Linked DNA regions of Homo sapiens: all the other regions are linked to region 3. Evidence: promoter capture Hi-C in 16 types of primary human blood cells and fetal thymus (Javierre and others, 2016). All regions are on one chromosome and are shown on one strand. Each heading gives the region's core, a stretch centred on a gene start or on the middle of the fragment in contact. The rest is flanking DNA. Distances are from core to core; before and after follow the strand shown. Region 1 overlaps CUBN (cubilin). Region 2 overlaps CUBN (cubilin). Region 3 holds the start of ST8SIA6 (ST8 alpha-N-acetyl-neuraminide alpha-2,8-sialyltransferase 6). Region 4 overlaps RSU1 (Ras suppressor protein 1). Region 5 overlaps RSU1 (Ras suppressor protein 1). Region 6 overlaps CUBN (cubilin).

Region 1 (2,700 bases), core at 118-2,617, 580 kb before region 3:
TTTGATGTGGATAATTTATTTCTCACATGCAGTGGGAGTAATCTGGGGCATATTTTCAGTTTATCCTCTCACCTAACTTTACCTACCCCCGCTACATCACCCTCTCCAGTCCAAATTCCTTCTCAAGCATCAGCTTCCAACTAGACAGCTCCATTTAAACAGGTCTTCCAACTTAAAATACTCCAAATTAAATAAAACATTTCTCCCTTAAATCTTAGTCTCCTAAGCCACCATCATCCAACAAATTACCTATAGAAAGTCATCCTCAATTCATGTCCTCATTAAAATATCATCAGAGTCCAAACACTGTGCTTCCAATGTATTCTGCCTTCCGTCTCTCAGATTTCTGCCCTTCCCTTTATCTCTTTCCCCTCTGGGTCCGTTCAAGGCTTTGACACTTCCCATCTAGATTTCTATCATAAGCTTCTTCCTTCCCATGTTGTAGGTTCTTCTAGCCTTCCTCCACTGTGCTACCAAAGTGATTTTTTTTTTTTTTTTTTTGAGACAGAGTCTCATTCTGTCACCCAGGCTAGAGTGCAATGGTATGATTTTGGCCCACTGCAACCTCCATCTCCTGGGTTCAAGCAATTCTCCCACCTCAGCCTCCTGCGTAGCTGGGATTACAGGCACACACCACCATGCCCAGCTAATTTTTGTATTTTTGTAGAGATGGGGTTTCACCATGTTGGCCAGGCTGGTCTTGAACTCCTGACCTCAGGTGATCCACCCGCCTCAACCTCCCAAAGTGCTGGGTACATTTGTTGAGTGATTTTTTTACAACATTAAAATATGTCATACGTAAGTTTTAAAACCAAGCCCTTACATGGCATATTCTTCTAAGCTTCAAGGAAAAGCAATCATAATCAGGTGGGGGTGGGGGGGGGGCGGGGAAATTAAATAAAGCAGAAAGGTAACAGTCCTGACAAATAGATTTACAAGTCCAGAATTCTTACCCAATGTCTGCCGGAAAGACATCTTCCAGCCTTTTGCTGTCTGAAATGAATCTGTCTTGAACACCAGGAGCATACTATTATTGCTGCTCTTCACATTTGGTGGGCGCTTGGAACCGCAGAATTTGCCAAGAAGGGGATCGCTGGTATTGGCACCATCGTAAATTGCCAGGTAGTCATGGGAGCAGGAGGTGGAGGGAACCACATCAAAATCACTGAACCTGTGAAATGTACCTTGTTAATACTGATGTTTCCATTTGGACTTCTATTAAATTGTAGCTTTAGCTCTTGCAAAAAAAATGACAAGGAAAAAACTACCAGTAGAGCATTCAAAACTCACTTGATATGAAATATTAGAAATCAAACAGTACTTTACTGATCAGTTCAAAAGTTTAGCCAAATTTGTTTTTAGTAATTACAATACAACAAAAACTGTGACAGCAGCTGGGGATGTCAAAGTGAGTAAGATACAGTCTTACTTTTCAAGGAATTCACAGTCTAGGGCATATTAAAGTCCATCTGAGAACAACTTTTGACAAGTTGAACTGATATTTACTATCCCAGCAATACTTTAGTTTTTTAGGTCTCATTAAAAATACCATATTTACTCTTCCCTTGTTATTTTATGAGATGAAGTAGAACTTATGGGAAGCATGTTAATATAATAGAAGAAATGCTGCTTTTAGAATCACAGCTCCATTCTCCTCACAGTCTCATTTTCCTCTTTTAAAATGAAGTTTATGTTAAGGTCAGGTGAAGAACAGGAAATTTACATTTAAGACCTCTGTGGTGGTCACTGACACTTCTGCACATGGTCCCAGCTCTCTGCCTCCCCAGCACTGGTAGGATTGCCCTAGGGGCACACTTTGAGGCTTGACATGGCTGCTAGGAGTTGCTTTGACCACAGAAATGTAAGCAGAAGGGATACATATTACTTTACGGAAGAAGCTTTACAAATGACTACTTGCTTTGCCACACTGCCTTCCCACTGCAGTGATGATCATGGAAGCAAATGTAAAAACGAAGCTTCCATCAGCCTGGGTTGTTGGATGACCACGATGAGCAGAGCTTCCATGCCAGGCCACACTGAACATGCTCATTACAATGAGAAATCAACTTGTTGAGTTAAGCTGCTGTGAGGTGGAGTTGTTTGTTACTATGTGCATAACCTATCCTGACAGATGCATCCCTAACTTTTCTCTGTCTTATACAGTGTTTAATTCAGGTCTTATTCTTTGTCATTTCAAATAACGATTTCTAGAGTTCCTGAACAAGCAAGGCTTCTTACATGGATTTACTTTAGAGTTTTGTGGTGGGTTTATTATAGCTTATTTTTAAAACTTGTTTAAAAAAATAATATTTGATATCCTGTCCTCATTTTTATAGGTTCTTCTGCTTTTTCTTTTTTTTTTTGAGACAGAGTCTCACTCTGTTGCACAGGCTGGAGTGCAGTGGCACAATCTCAGCTCACTGCAACCTCTGCCTCCCTGGTTCAAGTGATTCTCTTGCCTCACCCTCCCGAGTAGCTGGGATTACAGGTGTCCACCACCATGCCTGGCTATTTTTTTTAATTACATGTATATTTTTTAGTAGAGATGAGGTTTCTGCCATGTTGGCCAGGCTGGTCTTGAACTTCTGACCTCAGGTGACCTGCCTGCCTCAGCCTCCCTGTGCTGGGATTACAGGCATGGGACACCATGCCCAGCCTGCATTTTCAATTTATTTTGGCAGTAGCTCTAATAAACAATCC
Region 2 (2,700 bases), core at 160-2,659, 620 kb before region 3:
CTAAACCAAGAGGGAGTGCGTTATTGTAGGTGACGGCAGGAATGACTTCATTATAAAAGTGACTTTACCAGGCTAATAACTGACATACTTAAGGTCAAATACTTCAAGTTTTGGTGTTAATTTGTTCAATTTGTTAATCTGTATATGAAGGCTGTCATGATTTAGACTATATATCTGTGGAGATCCAGGTCATCTCTGGGACAGGAAGAAGCTGGCTGGCATAGTTACAGAGCACGTGGCTGGGCCTCTGACCACTGAGGTCTAATCTCACCTTCACCTCAGTCTAGTGGAGCATTTTGGGCAACTCATTAATCTTGGTGGGTTTTTTTGTTTGGTTGGTTTTTTTTTTGAGATGGAGTCTTGCTCTGTCGCCCAGGCTGGAGTGCAGTGGCACGATCTTGGCTCACTGCAAGCTCCACCTCCCGGGTTCATGGTGGGTTTTTTTTGTTTTGTTTTTTTTTTTGAGACGGAGTCTTGCTCCGTCACCCAGGCTGGAGTGCAGTGGCGTGATCTCGGCTCACTACAGCCTCCATCTCCCAAGTTCAAGTGATTCTCCAGTCTCAGCCTCCCGAGTAGCTGGGATTACAGGCATGTGCCACTACACCCAGTTAATTTTTGTATTTTTAGTGGAGATGGGGTTTCACCCTGTGGGCCACACTGGTCTGGAACTCCTGACCTCAGGTGATCCACCCACCTTGGTCTCCCAGGGATTATAGGTGTGAGCCACAGCACCTAGCTTAATCTTGGTGTTTTATTTGCTCGTTGATAAAATTTGAGCATTGGAGGTCACCTTTAAGCTTCCTTTGGGTGCCAAGATTCCATTACCCACGATTATCTTTATAGAACGCTTTTCTTAAGATATTTAAAGTGAGTTCTGTTTATCTTTCTTATTTTGAAGGTATTTTGGTATTTTGGGATATTTTATAAAGGTATTCCTCCTCTCTTGAATTAAATGTATTGACATGACTTAAATTTTCTTTAGTTGTTTGATAAACAGCCAGCCAAAAATGTGAGAAGATACTTACTACCCTAAAAAAAGCAATTTCTCTCCAGAACCGCCAAGAAATGTCAGGGCCTGCGAGAAGCACAACTACTCATATATATGCCAGAATGTGTTCATAAGTTGGATTTTTGGTAAAAATTTTTCTTTAAATTCTCAAAGAACTTCCTTGATGGTCAAGCCAAAAGTCAAAAAGTCTAACAAAATTTAATTTACCAAGGAATTTTTGAATCTTCCTACCTTACCTTATATATGTTTCATATATGAATATATATTCTTTTATAAACAGAAATAATGAATAAATGTAAAATTTAAAGTAATCTGGCCGGGCGCGGTGGCTCATGCCTGTAATCCCAGCACTTTGGGAGGTTGGATCACCTGAGTTCAGGAGTTTGAGACCAGCCTGGCCAATATGGGGAAACGCTCTGTCTACTAAAAATACAAAAATCGGCTGGGCATGGTGGCGCATGCCTGTAATCTCAGCTACTTGGGAAGCTGAGGTAGGAGAATCACTTGAACCTGGGAGGTGGAGGTTGCAGTGAGCTAAGATCACGCCACTACACTCCAGGCTGGATGACACAGCGAGATTCCATTTCAAAAAAAAAAAAGTAATCTGTACTTTCAATGTTAAAATCTCTATTCTTAACATAAACTAATCAGGTACACAGGTAGCTAAAAATATAAAGTTACTTTGCCTTTTACTATTAGACACCTCATGTTTTTCTCACAGTGCTTTCCTGTACAAAGTGCAAATGTCTTACCAGAGGGTGATGAAGTCCAGATGATTTCATATCCACGATCAGAAGTTACACTATCACTCTTAAATCGTAGGTATAGTTCATTATTTTGAGAGAAGACAGGGTTTGGCAGCAGAGTTCCACAGTACTTGCCCAGTAATGGTGAATTGCTGTTACTTCCATTTCTCACCTTTAGGAAGGAGTCATTCATTATTAAACTTACACTTTCTTCTCTAAGGTATATACATTAAAATGGAGACAATTTGAATGATGACATTGGTCGGAAAAGCTTTGTCTTTTTATACAGTTAAGAATGAAGCGTTTTCTGAAAATACATGCAGAAGTCACCTTCACTTGCAAAGGGGAAAAATGTTCCACGTGTAGATCAAAAAACATTTGCATTTGGATTCAGAAATACCTGTTAACCTACAGCAATTAAAACACCAGGCAGCTTTTTTATACCGTAGTTTGTGCTGTGATCCTGCAGCCTTTGCTTTTGGGGAAACATTCTGGAGAATGTAGGTAAAGTGAATTTTTAAAAGGTGGAGATGGGCGGGGGCAATGTTGCCTGCTCTGCTTCCAGTCAACTATTACACCTTTCTCATTGTGTGTGTGTTTGTGTATGTGTGTGTGTGCACGTGTTTCCCATTGAAAATTACTTGGCTGTAAAGAGGCTATGAAAAAATACAATGCAAAGTATAATAAAGTTCAGAACGAAAGGAATTTCTGTATGGGCAAAGGACAGAATTATAAATCTATACAATGTCTGTTGTTAAATGTGTTTTACAAACACATTCCGAGGCCTTGTTGCTTTTTTGTTTCAACTCATTTTTGAGTAGACACATATAAAAACAGGAGATGAGCCTGTGTTTTATGGGGAGAGAGAACTACACTGTGAACTGAACCACTTTCTGTCCCCCAGCCTGGCTGCTACCCTGCATTCACAACCAGCCCTGCTTCCAG
Region 3 (2,700 bases), core at 32-2,531:
AAATGCAGCTGCTGGAGGATCCCCCTTGATTCAAAGACCATTCACATCCAGGCTTAGAGGGTTGAGGGAGTGTGAAGGGTGCCCCCCCCCAACCCCGCGCCCTCTTCAAACACACGCACACTCTTACACTCACTCGCGCCGTCCCAGCCTGCCTACTCCCAACGAGTCCAAGCCGGTGCAGCCGCGCCCCATGCCCGGCTCGCAGCTCCCGAGCCCCAGTCCGCCCGCGCTGGGCGCCGCTGTACCTGTTAGTGGCGCGCGGTACCGCGGTCGCCGGGCTCCGGAGCGTCCTCAGCGCTGCGGGGGTGCCGTGGGTGGCCTCCCTGCTTTCCTCCACCAGAATCCTGCACAGCCGGGGAGAAAACTTAAGTTGCTACACCCCGCCGGGAGCTGTTGGCTGAAAGGCTGGGAGTCGCGCTCCTTGCCTGGCAGGGAGATCTCGCACTCCCCGGCTCCCAGGCCAGGTCCCCAGCCCCAGAGTTGGAAGAGCCTTAGGGCGGGAAGGAAGAGACAGCAAGGACCAGAATGGGGAGCATGAGATCCTGATGCGGAACCCGACGGCAGGTCCCGCTCCACAGCTGCCTCGCCCACAGCGATGCGCGCTAGAGCCCCCGCAGCCCTGACCGGTCCCTCTGCTCCCCAGCCGCCGTCCACCGGTCGGAGGGTCGCCTCCCTGCGACCCCCTCCCCCACTCCACTCTCAGGCCGTCGCCGCCCGTGGGCTGCTCCCCGCCGCGGCCAAAAGTCTCCGCGCCCGAGGGGAAGCGATGGGCGGCTTGGGGGTCCGGGGGCGCCAGGCGGGGCGCGCGGCGCGGGGCGCGGCCGGCGGGTGGGTGGGTTACCTGGCGCGGCCGGGCGCGTCTGCCGGGCACCAGAGCAGGCGCAGCAGCAGCAGCAGCAGCAGGCTGGCGAGCAGGGCGAGCAGTGCGCCCCCCGGCCGCATCCTGAGCCACAGGCGCCGCCGCCACCGCTGCTGCCGGGGCGAAGCACAGCCCGGGCGGCCCCGACTCGCGGCTCCCGCCGCCGCCGCCACCGCCGCCGTGGCCGCAGCCCCGCGCACCCACAGCGTTCACAGGCGGCAGCGAGGGGCGCCCGCAGCCCACCCGGCAGAGTCTCCGCGGCGGGCGGAGAAGAAGCCGCGTTCGGGCTCGCCCCGGGCTCCCGGCCCCGGCCCGCGGAGCGCCGCGATCGGCTGGCAGATGACGATTCGCCGAGCTCGCCGCCTGTCCTCCCGGAGGCGCTCGGAGCTGCTGCGGGCTCCGGTCGCCGCTGCCACTGCTGCTGCCGCCGCCGCCGCGCGGGGTCACCTGAAGGTTGGGGCGCGGAAGCTCAACTCCGTGCTGATTGGGCTCCAAGTTTTCTGCGCCCTCGCCTCGTCCCGAGTGCCCGCGAATCCCCCGGACGCCCACGCAGACCACCCAGCCACACCACAACTCTGCCTGCGGAGAGAGGAGAGGAGAAAAAGGGGCCGCTTCAAAAACTTTCAAAACTGTGCAGTCGCTTGGCTGGATCCTCCCACGCATGAAGAAAGCTGGGGACTGGGGAATTGCTGGGTGGATCATGACACTGAACAGAAGCAGTAACCTGTGCTTACTTCAACCCAGATTCAGAGGGACAGCGAACTGGTATGAGGGGCTAGGAGACCTTTAGGCATGAGCACATTACTACCTGGAGACCCGTTTAGCCCCTGCCTGTATTTGCAAATAGTTTTATTGGAAAACCTCCATGCCCATGGCTTTGTATTATCAGTGACTGCATATGGCTGTATGATCTAGGGCTGCAAGGGCAGAATTGAGTAGTGATGACAGAGGTGGCATAGCCCACAGGGCCTAAAATATTTACCATTTGAAACTTTCCAGGAAAAGTTTGCATACTGCTCTTAAATAAGCAAGAGGCCATTAGCTTGAGGCTGTCTCTGTACGTTGAGTTCCCACCTAACAATGGAAACCTACATTAGGCTGTAATGAACAGGGGGCTACTGGCCAATCATGGGCAACCAACTCATTATACCAGGCCCCACAAGGCAGCCTGCATAGCTATAGCCAATCAGTTTCTCCACTGTGCTTCTGAGTTTGGCCTATCAGGCTTTGCTGCTCACACCATGGGGTGGACCTCACTGGACCTCCTCTGGTTGTGAGTGCTGCCCAATTCATGAACCCTTTGCTCGAATAAACTGTGCTAAATTTAATTTGTCTGATGTTTTTCTTTTAACACTGCTATGGGCTGAATGTTTGTGTCTCTACAAAATTCATATGTTGAAACCCAAATCCCCAATCTAATGTGGTGGTATCTGGAGGTGGGGCCTTTCATACCTGATTAGTTCATGGGGTGGAGGCTTCCTGGTGGAATTAGTTCCCTCATAAGAGCAGGCAGCGGGGAATTTGCCTCCTCTCTCTCTGCTCTGTGCAGTGTAAAGACACAGCACGAGGGCAGCTTTCTGCCAAGCAGGAAGAGGACCCTCACCAGAACCTGACCATGCTGGCACACTGATCTTGGGTTTCTTACCCTCCAGAACTGTGAAAAATAAATTTCTGTTCTTTCGGTCACCCAGCCTATGGTATCCTTCTTATGGCAGCCAGAACTAAACCACGGTCTAGATCATATTGGTTAGTATCTCATTTACGAGTATCTCATCTGTTGCAGGAGAGTGATCCAATGACACTATGAAACAGACTGGCTCTCTATTTTTTTAAAAGTGGGT
Region 4 (2,700 bases), core at 46-2,545, 660 kb before region 3:
CTAAGATATGCAGTCACTGGATGGTATTAACAAAACTTGGTGAGCTACAGCTACTCTGCAAGCCACTGTACTTCTTTGGTGGGACAGGGATAGAATATGAGTGAGATGCAGCTGCTGCCCTCAATGAGCTTCCTCTGCAATAAGGAGATGAAATAAAACACTAGGATACAATACAGAAAGTGATGGTGAATGTTATTTGTCAACTTGACTGGGCTACGAGATACCCAGATAGCTGGTAAAATGTTCTTTTCCAGGGTCTGTGAGGGTGTTTCCAGAAGAGATTAGCATTTGAATCAGGGGACTGAGTAAAGAAGACCTACCCTTGCCAATGCAGGTGAGCAATAACCAATTCATTGAGCGCCTCAATAGAATAAGAAGGCAGAGGAAGGGAGAATTCATGAAGATCCATCTTCTCCTGCCCTCAGACATCAGAGTTCCTGGTTCCTGGGCCTTCAGATTCTGGGACTTGCATCACTGACACGCACCCCTCCTATGACTCTCCAGCCTTTGGCCTTGCACTAAATTACATTACCAACTGTCCAGGTTCTCCAGCTTGCAGACAGCACATCATGTGACTTCTTAGCCTCCATAATCACCTGGGCCAATTTCCATAATAAATCTCCATATATATATTGCCTATGGATTCTGTTTCTCTGGAGAACTCTGACAGGCAGACTTGTACCATAAAAGTACTAAGGTGCTTTGAAACTCCCATTAAAAGGGAAGTGCCTGAAAATTTTTTTAGGGTTAATAAAACCTTCAAGGACCAGAGTCCATTTTGTTTTATTTCTAACTACCTTCCTCCTCTGTCTCTTCTTTTTTCTTTTTAGCTTGTTTGTATTGACTAATTTTTCTAGCATAAACTATTTTATTTGTGTAACACAAAACTTATGCAGTTTTAGAAATCATGGTTATAGAATGTTGGAGCCAAAGGAACTCTAGAAATCAAACAACTTAAGCTCCTCAATTTACAGATAAGAAAACAGTGGGCCAGAGAAGTAAAGGTATTCTAAGATTCCACGGGCCAGCAGAATCAGAACAGAGTACAATCAAGGTTTCCAGATTCTAAATCTTGAGCTTCTTCTTTGCAAACTGGAAAATTATTATTGACACCTGGATGGAATGTCCTTTATGACAGCAATTCCAACCATAATAAAAATAATATAAACCTGAATGGAAAATTCCTTCCTATCTAGAATAAAATAAGACACAAAAGCAAAGCAAAGAACGCACAGTTCCTAGCAGGTGAGACCTGCCCTGTCATCCCATGAGATCCTGAGAAAAATCACTGGATTGTTCTGGAGCACAAATTCCTCATCTTTAAAATGAAACAAATAAAAGAGAGAAAAAAGATTATTTATGTAATGACCACTACATCACTGTGTTGTGCTGAGCACTTTACATATGTGTTCACTAGAATCAAAAATGTTAGAACAGTCCCGGCGTGGTGGCTCATGCCTGTATTTCCAGCACTTCGGGAGGCCGGGGCAGGCAGATCACCTGAGGTCAGGAGTTCGAGACCAGCCTGGCCAACATGGTGAAGCCCCATCTCTACTAAAAATACAAAAATTAGCCAAGTGTGATGGTGGGTGCCTGTAATCCCAGCTACTGGGGAGGCTGAGGCAGGAGAATTGCTTGAACCCAGGAAGCAGTGGTTGCAGTGAGCCGAGATCGCGCCACTGCACCCAAGCCTGGGCGACAGAGTGAGACTCCATCTCAAAAAAAAAAAAAAAAAAAAATTAAAAAAAAATAAGGTAATAACAAACAACAATAGCTAATGCTTACCAAATGCTTAAAACATGACTGGCACAGTTCTAAGAACTTTATCAATTCACCTATTTCTCACGATAACCCTACAAGGCAATAGTAGTCTCTTCTTCCCTCTCAATTTTAGATGAGAAAAATGAGACACAAGAGGTTATGTAACTTGTCTGTGATTTCAGAACTAGTAAGCAGAGAGAACCCCCTAAAAGCTGTTTCCAAACAAGAAGCTGATTAATTCTGATACTGTCTTACTGGCTAAACAAATATGCCACCGGTTGCATCCACAATTTGCCAACTGCATGGCATTTTATGATGTTCAAAAGACAAGGAGTTTAAGTACACAGGTTGTTTTTTTGCCAAAGTTAAGACATGAGCAGTATTAACTGTGCACACTTTGCATTTCAGAAAATTGGGTGTATCTTCAACCCCCCGGACCCCTAAACAAGCCGCCCAGGTGAGGCACCGGCACCCTCTTCCCAGGGGCTGATGTCAGACGTTTCTCTATCACTCTCCATTCTCCGCTTGAGCAGCAGCTCTCTGCGTCCGCCTCAACCTTCCCCCATACTTCTCACCTGAACCTGGCCCCACATTTCCCTGGGAAAAGTAAACCTTCTTTTCAAGCAGGAGGAGCTGGAATCCTAAACCTGCTGTCTGTACAAAAGCCACATGACTCTTGGAGCTCTAAGAGTTCTAAGTCCCTCAACAGTCACTAAATATTAGAAGACCATGGTGTGCCACCTGCTCTTACCCGAAGGCAAAACATGATTTGGTCTCGTAGGCAGCTCAACCATTATTTTTAACCTTGGATTTTGATTCTCTCCCCACATGTCATCCCTTATCCTGGCCTCCAAGTGTTGCCTTCTCCAATCCTATAACCAGTCACCTAGATTGACATTGATCATCAATCAGCCCCTAAGTCAAACTTAGGTGTGTTTC
Region 5 (2,700 bases), core at 59-2,558, 640 kb before region 3:
TAAAAATATAAAAATTAGCCAGGTGTGGTGGCGCACGCCTGTAACCCCAGTTACTGGGGAGGCTGAGGCAGGAGAATCGCTTGAACCCAAGAGGTGGAGGCTGCAGTGAGCAGAGATCACGCCACTGCACTCCAGCCTGGGCAACAGAGCAAGACTCCATCTCAAAAACAAAAAACAAAAATTAAAAAACAAAAAAATGATTTTAATAGATTATATCTAAAATTACAGGTCCTCCCCAGCTCTTTAATCTATCCCCCAAAGAAGGTCGACATGGATAGCATGTGTTCCAGGTTTAACAAGACTTTTGAGATAGCTCTTCCAGATAACCCATGATCATATTTGTTTATTATTTTGCCTGGTCCTTTAGAAAGACCACTCCCTTGAAAGCAGGTTGTTTTCGAGATTTATCTGAAAAATATTTTAGTCTAACTTGGAAAAAAAATGATAAAGGCTTGACCACCCAGAGAGGGCAATACACTTGAAGAGATTAAAAAATCAGGAAACACTTAAATAAGAGAAATGAAAGAAAGTTCCTCCGGCTACAGCTGGGATTCTGTCTCTATGGAAATGGAAGCTGATTACAGGGCCCTTCAAAATCAACTTTATCAACCAGATGAAGACAGCTGCTGCTTGGGAAAGAGTTTCTGCAGTGAAATCTCTTTAATAAAAAGAATAAAATCAGCAGCATTACGATTATGCTGGGAAGCTTTTTTTTTTTTTTAAGAGACAAGGTCTTGTTCTGTCACCTAGTAACACGATCATAGCTCACTACAAACTCAAACTCCTGGGTTCCAGCAATCCTCCCACCGCAGCCTCCCTGAAAGCTGGGACTTGCACATCACCCTCAGCTCATTTTTTAATTTTTTGTAGAGATGGGGTCTCACTCTATTGCCCACACTGGTGTTCTTGGAAGCTTTAACGAGAATGTGTGTGCAAATTACATGCCATGTTAAAACAAAATGATGGAAAATAAATAAATTAGGACAAATTTTAAATAAATAGCTATCTAAATCAATTAGAACCTTAGGCAAAAGTACCAAACACTACAGGTTCTAATAAGCCACACAAAAAATTCCAACACCTGATACAAATGCCTTACCCAGTCGAGTTAACAAAGTAAAGTTCTTGGTTCAGGCTACTGACTATGTTGGAACTGGGTATGTCTGAGACATATGGGTCTATAGCTGGATATTCATATTAATAGTTAACATTTAATGTACATTATTGGATCTAACACTAGTTAATAACTAACATTTAATGTGCATTATTGCATTTAACGCAAACCATTAAACCAGTCTTATGAAGTGGTTTCTTAGGCTACCAATTATTAAGTAACTTGAGGATCAGAGAGGTTAAGTAGCTTCTCTAAGGTTACACAGTACTAACTAGCAGAATTTGAATCCACGTCTATCCAAATCCAGGTTCCCCTCCTATGTGCTGTACTCCTCTGCCTCTCATGGTAGGAAGTGAGCATTTCTAGAATCTGGCTGGACTACTAGAAAACTGTAGAACCTGTCTGATACCTGTCTCCAGCCTAAGAAGTTTTCCCCATCAGAAAGTTCTTGGTACCTAAACTCCTCAAAACATCTTTTAAAGGTAATTTGCTGTCTCTAAGGAAGGGCTGCGTTAGAAGATACAACTCTCCCAGGAAGAAAGACGGGCATCTCATATGCTTAGTAGTACAAAACCTTACTTTTATCTTCAAAGCTTAATTCTAACCTCTTGAGAAATTAAACAAAGTAAGAATAATAAAGGGAAAACTTGAGATGCAAGAAACAGCTATTCTCTGTACATACAAGTTTAAGCTGTGTTTAAGCTGGATACTAGTATATAAAACTTCCTGGTTACAGCTAAAAGTTTATCAGTAAAGAAACATGGAGGTTGGGTGTGGTAGCTCACATGTGTAATGCCAGCACTTTAGGAGGCCAAGATGGGGGCACTCCTTGAGCCCAGGAGTTTGAGGCCAGCCTGGGCAGCATAGCAAGACCCCATCTCTACAAAGAAATAAAAAATAAAACCATTAGCCAGGCGTGGTGGCGTGTACCTATAGTCCCAGCTACTCGGGAGGCTGAGGTGGGAGGATTGCTTGAGCCTGGGAGGGTGAGGCCCCAGGGAGCTGTGACTGCACCACTGCATTCCAGCCTGGGTGACAGAGCGAGACCCTGTTTTCAGGAAAAAAAAAAAAAAAAAGAAAAAAAAATTCTTACACTTATAATTAATGTAGCCATGTGAAGTATTTTAATACTTGTATATATTAAGCACTGTGTCAGTGTGTGTGCACTGCTGAGAAGTGAGCCCTGGTGGAGGCTTCGAAGAGCATCCTGGAACCCCCTAGGCTCCGAGAAGTCCTGAGGTCAGGGAGTTTGCAGAGAGCAGCCTTGGCTCAATGCTACAGAAGCCAGAGGAGATGGAATCTGCAAATCTCCAAATTCACTTCCACCCAACTTCCCAAAAAGTACTATTATCCGTTGTTAGCTACTTCTTTAGGAAAATTTAAGAATGATCTCGCTTTTCACCACCCAATGTTATACCGGAAATATATTTCAGGAAGCAAGTGGCTTTTCTTCCTTAATAAAAGCCAAGGCTTCAAAGAGATAACGGAGCTGAACCGAAATAGCTAAGCCATTCTCCCCATTTATAAATATTACATAAAGTCTCCTCTTCAAAAGCCGAAGGGTACAAAGCTCCTCTGCTGAAAGC
Region 6 (2,700 bases), core at 196-2,695, 610 kb before region 3:
AGACAGCACCACTGCAGTCCAGCCTGGGCAAAACAGCAAGACTCCAACTAAAAAAAAAAATGTATTTTATTTGTACTTTAAATGTAATTATTTAAATGTATGTTTTTTGTTTACATGTCAGTCTCCTACACTTTACTAGCAGCTCCTCAAGAAGCTTGAACTCTTCAAGAGATGTCTTTAACTCTCTACATCTCCAGTGATGCTGGTACAGGGCCTGGCACATACCCTTGCCAACTAACTCCTGCAATGGATGCGATGTGGATTTCAAAAGAGACTGCTCAGTGACATGCACAATTCACTACGTGATTCAGTTACCGTAATTACTCTCCAAGTCAACCCTTTCACAAACGATCATGATAGAATTATGAATGAATAATGGAATTGGTATGATTTTACTTGTGTATCTACCACAGAGTTCAGTTAAATTAGCTTTTCTAAAAAGTGATTTGATTATAATCTCTAAAAAAAAATCTAAAAGGAATCAACCGTCCCATTTATCACAGAAAAATCTCTTTAATAAAGAAAGCTCCAAGCTCCACATTCCAAGGGCTATTCTTTGATCTGCCAGTTTAGTGGTAGTTGGAAACGTTGCCAATGGAAGGAAATTGCTTTTCCAAGGGGGAAAACAAGAATAGTTCTGAACAGAATTTATTTGAAAAAAACGATATTTTATTTTGAAGCAAGAAAATAACTCCTTGTTTTTGATATTGCAGTTTCTGGCCTGAATGAATTGCGGAAATTCAGACAATGACAGGCTGTTTTGATGACATTATCAAATCACACTCCATAAAAATGGATCTTGAGAGTAAATCCAGTCAACTCTCCTAGCAGGGCCATACTCAAATCATTCTATAAGAATTTAAAATTGTAATTTTATATGCAAATCCATTATTTTTAGTTTTTAAGAAAAAGAAATTCCATAGTGCCCATGCCTATTTGGAATTACTCCAACGGGGAAAAAAAGGGAGGTAAATTTGTTTACAATTTATGTCAGGCACAGTGCTAAACGCTCTAGTACACATAATTTCAATCCTCAAAACTGCCTTTCACAGTAGGTACTATTATGTGATTTAAAGAAAAATTGACGAAATGATGAGGAATCGGGGAGATTAGGAAATTTGTCTGACAGCAAAATTGGGTTAGAGTCCCCATACTCTCCGTCTCTAAACCTTATTACCTTTCTGTAAAGCCAGGAGAGCTCTCAAACAGTTTTGAATTCAGCTTTAGGACTGCTCTAGTCATTTTGGTCTCTCCCAGCCTTTTTTTTTTTTTTTTTTTTTTTTTTTTGGCGAAAGTATCTCACTCTGTTGCCCAGGCTGGTGTGCAGTGATGCAATCACGACTGACTGCAGCTTATACCTTCTGGGTTCAGGGGATCCTTCCACCTCAGTCTCCCGAGAAGCTGGTACCGTAGGTGCACAGCACCACACCCAGATAATTGTTTTGTATTTTTTGTAGAGACGGGTTCTCACTATGTTGCCAGGGCTTGTCTCAAACTTCTGAGCTCAAGCAATCTGCCTACCTCTGCCTCCCAGTGTGCTGGGATTACAGACGTGAGTCACCGCACTCGGCCGGCCAGGTCTCATTTTAGGAAAGGAGAATTAAACTGGAATTGACATTCCTTGCTATCTTTAGTCTTTCATGAACTCCTCTGATCCAGCTTCTGTGCCAATACTTTATTTAAATGGTTGTCATCCAGTGCAATGAGGCTGTTCTTCATCTTTCCCTTTCTTGGCCTCTACTTTACAATTCAATAGTATTGACCACCCATGCTTTGTAAAAGAATCCCCCTGCCCCTTGACTTCAGGGATACTACACTATTCCTGGTCTTCACATTTATCTTTTCATGACGCGTCTGTTCTTTTCCTGTGCCTTTTGCCTTCTCCAGTTGCCTCCCTGGGTACTTTTCCTGGAGCTGAGAGCCTGACTCTCTGAAATCTATGCTGACTCCCTCTAAGAAAGCATCCTTTCTCCTGATGGAAGGAAGGCTCTTTGCTGTGTCCTCTCTATTCGTGGAGCTGTCTTCTCACCGGAGCCCCGTTCCATTCTCTGCCCACTGCAGTCTCACTTGTCTGTCTTGCTCTCACCAAACCACACTGTTATTTTTCTGGCCTCCCAACCTTAGCCCCTTTCATAGTAAAAACAAAAGCATGTAACTAAGTGCTCAAATGGGTATTCCCTCCACAAATTTTCCTTCCTTTTCTTTTAAAATTATTTTCTCTAAAGTTTATTGCAATCCTAGAACTTAAGTTTCTCTTGCACCCCTCTTGCCATCACCGCCATGGCTGCACCCCTGATCCAGGTCTAAGACTGACCTTCTCACCTAGGAGGGACCTCTCTCTGGAGCCCTCCCAGCCTCCTCTCCTTCCAGTTCCCACAGCTGCTGATTTCAGGTTAGTCTTCCCTAGCTACTGCTGTTGTCACCTCACTCATTGGAAAACCTTCAACCACTCCTTATTTTCACCCGCACAGAGTCTAAAGTCATTAGTTTGACTTTCAGGATCCTTTGTAATCTCGGTATTTCTCTATGTAGGCCATCTTATTTCTTGCTACTCTTTAGCACTATTCTGCTTCAACACAGCCAGCCTCTTTACGCTTTCGAGAACATGCACGTATCAATTCCTATGCCTTTTTGAAAATGTTCACCTTGCCTGAATTCTCTCCTGACCTGAGTAAGTTTTCCCTCGCTCTATCAAGTCAT

Evidence for each region. The method cuts DNA at HindIII sites, captures the fragments that hold promoters and counts their contacts. A CHiCAGO score of 5 or more calls a contact.
Region 1: a contact is called between a fragment that was not itself captured here and the fragment with the promoter of ST8SIA6 in region 3, in 1 of 17 cell types (M1 macrophages). The highest score is 5.2, in M1 macrophages.
Region 2: a contact is called between a fragment that was not itself captured here and the fragment with the promoter of ST8SIA6 in region 3, in 12 of 17 cell types (erythroblasts, M1 macrophages, M0 macrophages and 9 more). The highest score is 15.1, in erythroblasts.
Region 4: a contact is called between a fragment that was not itself captured here and the fragment with the promoter of ST8SIA6 in region 3, in 1 of 17 cell types (naive CD4 T cells). The highest score is 5.1, in naive CD4 T cells.
Region 5: a fragment that was not itself captured here is called in contact with the fragment with the promoter of ST8SIA6 in region 3 in 1 of 17 cell types (erythroblasts); the score reaches 7.2 in erythroblasts.
Region 6: a contact is called between a fragment that was not itself captured here and the fragment with the promoter of ST8SIA6 in region 3, in 4 of 17 cell types (M1 macrophages, M0 macrophages, M2 macrophages and 1 more). The highest score is 7.3, in M1 macrophages.

The regions. Positions count from the first base shown.
Region 1 is chr10:16,868,683-16,871,382 of GRCh38, forward strand. It overlaps CUBN (cubilin), which reads right to left. Exons shown (of 67, transcript NM_001081.4): 59 at 954-1,171. Among named protein-coding and RNA genes, the nearest start is that of RSU1, 53 kb to the left of the region's middle. The HindIII fragment of the contact is 1,057 bases long and covers 840-1,896 here.
Region 2 is chr10:16,829,491-16,832,190 of GRCh38, forward strand. CUBN (cubilin) reads right to left here. Exons shown (of 67, transcript NM_001081.4): 65 at 1,762-1,927. Among named protein-coding and RNA genes, the nearest start is that of RSU1, 13 kb to the left of the region's middle. The HindIII fragment of the contact is 1,229 bases long and covers 796-2,024 here.
Region 3 is chr10:17,453,314-17,456,013 of GRCh38, forward strand. ST8SIA6 (ST8 alpha-N-acetyl-neuraminide alpha-2,8-sialyltransferase 6) reads right to left here and starts at 1,282. Exons shown (of 8, transcript NM_001004470.3): 1 at 842-1,282; 2 at 246-344. The coding sequence starts at 942. The HindIII fragment of the contact is 5,030 bases long and covers 1-2,700 here.
Region 4 is chr10:16,793,636-16,796,335 of GRCh38, forward strand. The region is part of intron 2 of RSU1 (Ras suppressor protein 1); the gene reads right to left. Among named protein-coding and RNA genes, the nearest start is that of RSU1, 22 kb to the right of the region's middle. RefSeq lists enhancers at 1,832-2,051, 2,262-2,321. The HindIII fragment of the contact is 3,505 bases long and covers 1-2,700 here.
Region 5 is chr10:16,812,279-16,814,978 of GRCh38, forward strand. The region is part of intron 2 of RSU1 (Ras suppressor protein 1); the gene reads right to left. Among named protein-coding and RNA genes, the nearest start is that of RSU1, 3.8 kb to the right of the region's middle. The HindIII fragment of the contact is 794 bases long and covers 912-1,705 here.
Region 6 is chr10:16,847,432-16,850,131 of GRCh38, forward strand. The region is part of intron 60 of CUBN (cubilin); the gene reads right to left. Among named protein-coding and RNA genes, the nearest start is that of RSU1, 31 kb to the left of the region's middle. The HindIII fragment of the contact is 2,587 bases long and covers 153-2,700 here.